2 separate regions of the Homo sapiens genome follow, and region 2 is linked to region 1. The links are contacts of gene promoters, found by promoter capture Hi-C in human tissues and cell types (Jung and others, 2019). All regions are on one chromosome and are shown on one strand. Each heading gives the region's core, a stretch centred on a gene start or on the middle of the fragment in contact. The rest is flanking DNA. Distances are from core to core; before and after follow the strand shown.

Evidence for each region. Contacts are between HindIII fragments. The study calls those that stand out against the background at their distance.
Region 2: a contact is called between a fragment that was not itself captured here and the fragment with the promoter of ASB14 in region 1, in 3 of the 25 tissues and cell types used here (heart left ventricle, mesendoderm cells and thymus).

The regions. Positions count from the first base shown.
Region 1 is chr3:57,291,355-57,294,054 of GRCh38, forward strand. It overlaps ASB14 (ankyrin repeat and SOCS box containing 14), which reads right to left and starts at 1,331. Exons shown (of 11, transcript NM_001142733.3): 1 at 1,279-1,331; 2 at 558-750. The coding sequence starts at 679. It overlaps DNAH12 (dynein axonemal heavy chain 12), which reads right to left. Exons shown (of 74, transcript NM_001366028.2): 74 at 2,346-2,617. The coding sequence ends at 2,427. LOC124909384 (a long non-coding RNA gene) reads left to right here and starts at 1,437. Exons shown (of 2, transcript XR_007095923.1): 1 at 1,437-2,038. The HindIII fragment of the contact is 9,422 bases long and covers 1-2,700 here.
Region 2 is chr3:57,242,320-57,245,019 of GRCh38, forward strand. APPL1 (adaptor protein, phosphotyrosine interacting with PH domain and leucine zipper 1) reads left to right here. Exons shown (of 22, transcript NM_012096.3): 7 at 537-595. Among named protein-coding and RNA genes, the nearest start is that of APPL1, 16 kb to the left of the region's middle. The HindIII fragment of the contact is 4,279 bases long and covers 1-2,700 here.

The DNA.
Region 1 (2,700 bases), core at 81-2,580:
GTGAGCAGGTGTGCCATATCCAGGACGATTCTTCTTACACCCCACACAGGGTCCCACTGGTCCTTTTTCAGTGTTGTCCAACAAAACTCTGAATCTACACTTTCAGAAGCCTTGTTCAAGTTTATGTAATTCCTCCTTTTGATTTGAGTAGATCAAAGACTGGACCCCATCCCCACCTACCCTACTAAGGTTGAAGATAACTAACTTTCTATGTGTCCCGGTTGGATTTATGCATTTCTTCAATTCCCAAAGACAAGATGTATTAGTTTTTCTCTAGCCCTTCATATCCTCCTTTCTTTCTTCTGATTTCCAGTCTGTATCACCTCACCCAGATTTGCTGCTAACCTCCTTCAGATATTTTTATTGCCTAATTAAATTCTGAATTATTTCCAGATTATTCCTGTCTAGTTAGGCATAATATCTTACAGATATTTAATTGACAGCTCCTTGGATTCTGACCCTCCTGTTTTTGTCACAACACTAGAGTTAAGCTAATGACAAGTGTCAGCTGTTGAATACAACACTTAATACTATATTGCCGATGAGAAAACCATTACCTCTCATCCTTAGGTGCATGTTGTGCTGTTCCTGGCTTATAAATATCCTGCAAACTCTGTTGAATGATGAGCTGGGTGTCAAAGTCTTCATCTATGTCTTCATCGCTGGTGTAATTATCCATGTGAAACGTGGACAGGTTTACTTTAAAGTCAGAGTGAATTAAAAGTATTTTTCCAGTTGTGAAGAGATCAACTGCTTAAAATTACAAATGAAATTCAGAAATCTAGAAAATTGGTAGGATTAACAATGAAAAATATACAAAATTTAGGAAACAAAATATTCACTAAAAAATTTCTATAAACTTAAAAAAGTTTTGTGGACTGCCACAGATTCAACAAAAATTAGAAGTTTCCATGAGTAGCCATTGACTTAAAGCTTATTCAGGAAAAACCACCTTTCAAATAAGACTTCGGTTAGTGCCACTCTAACACTGACAACACTCTGATCTGTTCAACTTGGCTGTGAGTCTTTCACAGTGATTGTAGCACTCATCCAAAATAATATCTTTCCTACACACAGTGTGATGCTGAAAATAATATTTTACTTAATATACATTAAAAATAAACATGTTATAGGAACAAATGTATTCTCATAATTACAACATGGATACAGCAGTAGTAAAAACAAATGTATCTTACTAGGCAATATCTAAATGGTTTTAAAAGAAAAATGTCAGTTTTAGCATAGAATACATTTGGTCACATTTCAAAGACTTTTTACCTTTTGTTTTATCCTCTAGGACAGCAGTGAAGTTTTCACTGTTAAGGACTAACACATGTAAGCCTCAGAATTTTCATTTATATTTAGGCTCTCCTCTCCCCTGTAGTGACCATTCCATTAATAGCTTTACTATAAATACTTCATCATAAGACAGTTTGGCACATTCTCCTTGTTTTTTACATGTGGTTTAGCTCTTTTTGGAAACATGATCTCTTTTCTTCAGTGCTACATTCATCAAATTTAAAGGATTAAATATTTTATTCCTGGAATAAAATGCTTTTGCAGGGGGTTGGCCATGCAAAGAGAATTCATGCACATAGCCACTGCAAACCACAATCAATTTTTCACTTAAGAGAACCCAAACATTTTGCTCTGACCCAATTATCCAAAGTGACTGTCCCAATGTACTAGATTCACTAGGTAGCTGTGACTACATTTTCCTTGGGTTACAGAACTGTGGCCTTCAGTGTCCTTGGAATCCTAAGGGAAGAATTCACTCTACACAAGATAAAATTTTGATCAAAATTCTGTTTTGTTGAAATATTTTTAAATTGTTAATATACACTAAAAAAAGCAAAGGGACCACTTGACATTTCAAATTAAATATGAAGCAAATGCCGAGAAGCACACTGTCACTGCAGGTGTAGAAGTTCGGACTGCCCTCAAGCCATCCTACTGCCTTTGCAGGCCAACTTCGCAGCTTTGAGTTTCCTTTCCTAGTCACAAGGATGCAGTGAGAAATGGAACCGATGTCTTAGAGGTAAGAAATAAAGAGGTATAGTTGGGTAACTTTTAATATTTTCCATATTTATAATTTCTTAATTTATGTATTTGAAATATTTATGTATAATTACTTTAGGTAGGAGAGTGGAAAGTAAACTATACTGAAGCTGAAGGAATGACTTAACATTTGTGAAGGAGATAATTCCTGATATTTGTTAAATGTTACCGTTTAACCCCCAAATCTATTTTTCACATACAATCAAACTTCAAAAAGTTCTCCTCAGAAAGGAGAACAATGCAATGAGTGTTTGCAAAGATCATTTAAAAGAATAACACCAAAACACTTGGTTTTATAATGTATATATTTTAAGTAGGACAGGTTTTTTTTTTTTTAAACTTTTGGATGTTTTATAAATTTGTCCAATTTAGTCATCCAACTGACAAAGCAAAGCAACCCCGCGCTTGATCCAGTGCCGAGTAGGTTGGTCTGTTTTTAACAACATTGCAATGACAAAGTTAGTAGAATGTCCCGTAGTGGAAAGAGTTCCTTTACGTTCACTTGTCTTGTAGAGGGGACAGACATAGGCATCCGACTTTATAATCCGAGATTTTTGAGCTTGAAAAAAAAAAAGAAATATATTCACTTGATAAAGGGAAAAACAGCCATTGGTACGAAAAGAACTATTTATCTTGTAATAA
Region 2 (2,700 bases), core at 167-2,666, 49 kb before region 1:
TCTTAAGGAAATTAAGTCTTACAGGTTACTATCTTCATAATGCCTAAAGAGGTAGTGTAATATTTTACCCTTCTTGTTCTTTTATATATCCCAATTTTTCTTTAATGAGTGTTATATATATATATATTTTAAGATACAGGGTCTTGCTCTGTTGCCCAGGTTGGAGTGCAGTGGCTTTTCAAGCCACAATCATAGCATACTGTAGTGATCCTGCTGCCCCATCCTCCTGAGTAGCTGGGACTATTGGCATATGCCACTGTGTCTAAGCTGCGTTTGCTATTTTTGTACTAGAAAATACTTTAAAAAGCTTTAGTGCATTAGTTTCCTTGGAATTAATTTTTTAAAAACCAATTTGAGAAGTAGACACATAATTTAGGGGAAATTTGGCTGTGGGGAAAATTGAGTGCAGTGGTCATGTGGTAGGAAATTCTTGCTTTAGTACGTTTGTGGAAAGGTGCACATGTGAAGACCATTGAAAGCATTTGTAAGTTTTGAAAAGTACTGTTGTATTGTTAACACTCATTTCTTTTTTCCAGATCATGATGCTGCGATTAATAGATATAGCCGTTTATCAAAAAAAAGAGAAAATGACAAGGTGTGGTACATATTTATTCCTTCAGTGTCATAATTAACTATTCATTAGGTGGTTTAGTTTTTCCTCTATCAAAATAGAGCCAGCAGTTACTTTGTATGTTTTGTTATATTACTATTAGTTTATTCTTTCCTTCTAGCTGTTCAAAACCTTTCTGATAATCATTGACCTCTTTAAACAAAATATTTTCTTCTGCCAAAATTTGATGTTATAAGTAAATATAACTATTCTGGAAATTTAACTGATGCCCAGTATATAACATTGCCTTTTGTTGCTTTGTATTTTGATGACATGGCATTGGTTCTGTTTGAATATATAGGTGTGTTCAAAAATGTCTTCTGAGATAGAGTGGTCACACACATAATGAAATTCTGTTATGAGGCCCTCCTTATTTATAGACATATATATCTTTTGATATTTGTTCAAGGAGTGAAATACAGAAATATTACACTATATTTGAGGAGAAATGCATTCAAGTAAAGATGAGAGTACAGAGTATTAACAGGTTTTTTTGGGCGTGCCTTAAGATCATGTCTTTCTCCAGCATCTAGTCCAAGGCTTGATGTGTAGGTCTTTCTAGATGCTTGTGACTGAGGTGATCTCTGTGCCTGGGTGTTGGTGTCTGCAGCCTTGGCTGCAGCTGCTGGTGGAAACACAGTGACTGCTTGTGGGAATCCACAGTTGGGTAGGATTTACTGTGCAACAGCTACTGTGACAAAGGAAATGTTTCTCACACAAAGTTTAGTACAAAGATTGATTTCCTTTTCGTTTCTAATTTTAGCTGCAGACTACTACTTAATGGTGTATTGATAAAATGTATACATTTGAGATCTCTATTAGTCACTTGGCCTTAGAGAAGTAGTTAAAGGCTCTGGGTATAAAATTTGATATATTTTACATTACTTCTGGCTGCTCAAAGTATTTTAAAAAACACTCTGTCACCAACTTCATTTTATTTAAAAATTCATTGAGCACCTAATATACGTCAAGCAGTCTGTTGGGTACCTTGGGGGAACAACATGAATAGGCTTCACTCCTGCCCTCAAAGACTGGATACTCCACATTTATTGAAGGCTACCTGTGTGAAGGCATGCAGGTGGACTAGGAACCAGAGTACAAGGATGACAAGAAGGCATGAATTAACTCTGTTATTAGTTAAATACAATAATAGGGGTTTTAATAAAATGCTGAGAGAGCACAGAGAGGGCAGCAGTTCACTTTGATTGGTGAATTGGGAAAGGTTACACTTTTTTTTTTTTTTTGAGACAGGGCCTCATTCTGTCTCCCAGGCAGGAGTGCAGTGGCTCCGTCTCGGCTCACTGCAACCTCCGCCTCCTGGGTTCAAGTGATCCTCCTGTTTCAGCCTCCCCAGTAACTGGGATTACAGGTGTTAGCCACTATGCTCAGCTAATTTTTGTATTTTTAGTAGAGGTGGGGTTTCACCATGTTGGCCAGGCTGGTCTCGAACTCCTGACTTCAGGTGATCTGCCTGCCTCGGCCTCCCAAAGTGCTGGGATTACAGGCTTGAGCCACCACACATGGCCAGCAAAGGTTACACTTTTAGAAGGTGACATTTACATTAAAGATAAGTGGATAACACCAGTTTGGAATCGGAGAGAGTGCTTTCCTGAAAGAAAAACAGCCTTTCAGAGGCACATGGTGGAGTTGGGAGAGTGTAAAGATTAAGAGTACTCTGTGACAATAAAGGAAATGTTAGGAGATATGGCAGAAAGAGTAAGAAGTATATTAGTACCAGATTACTATATTAATGACCTTGAAATTTGTGTTAGAGGGAGTGGACAGCCGCCAAAGGATTCTAAGTAGGTGAATAACATCATGCAATTGTGTTATAGAACAAACATACTAATGAAAATGTGAAGAGGACAAGACTAGAGGATATCCAGTGAAAGGAATTGGAATAGTTTGCAGAGATACAATGAAGGCCTCAGCTAAGGTTGTTACTGAAAATGGAGAGGAAGGAGTACTTTTGGGAGATATTTTTTTAAGTAGAATTGACAAGACTTGTGGTAATAGGAGGAATAAAAAATGAGTCCTAGATTTCTTGGATGTCTGGATGGATCCTGTAGTAATTAAGAAAGGTAAGAAAC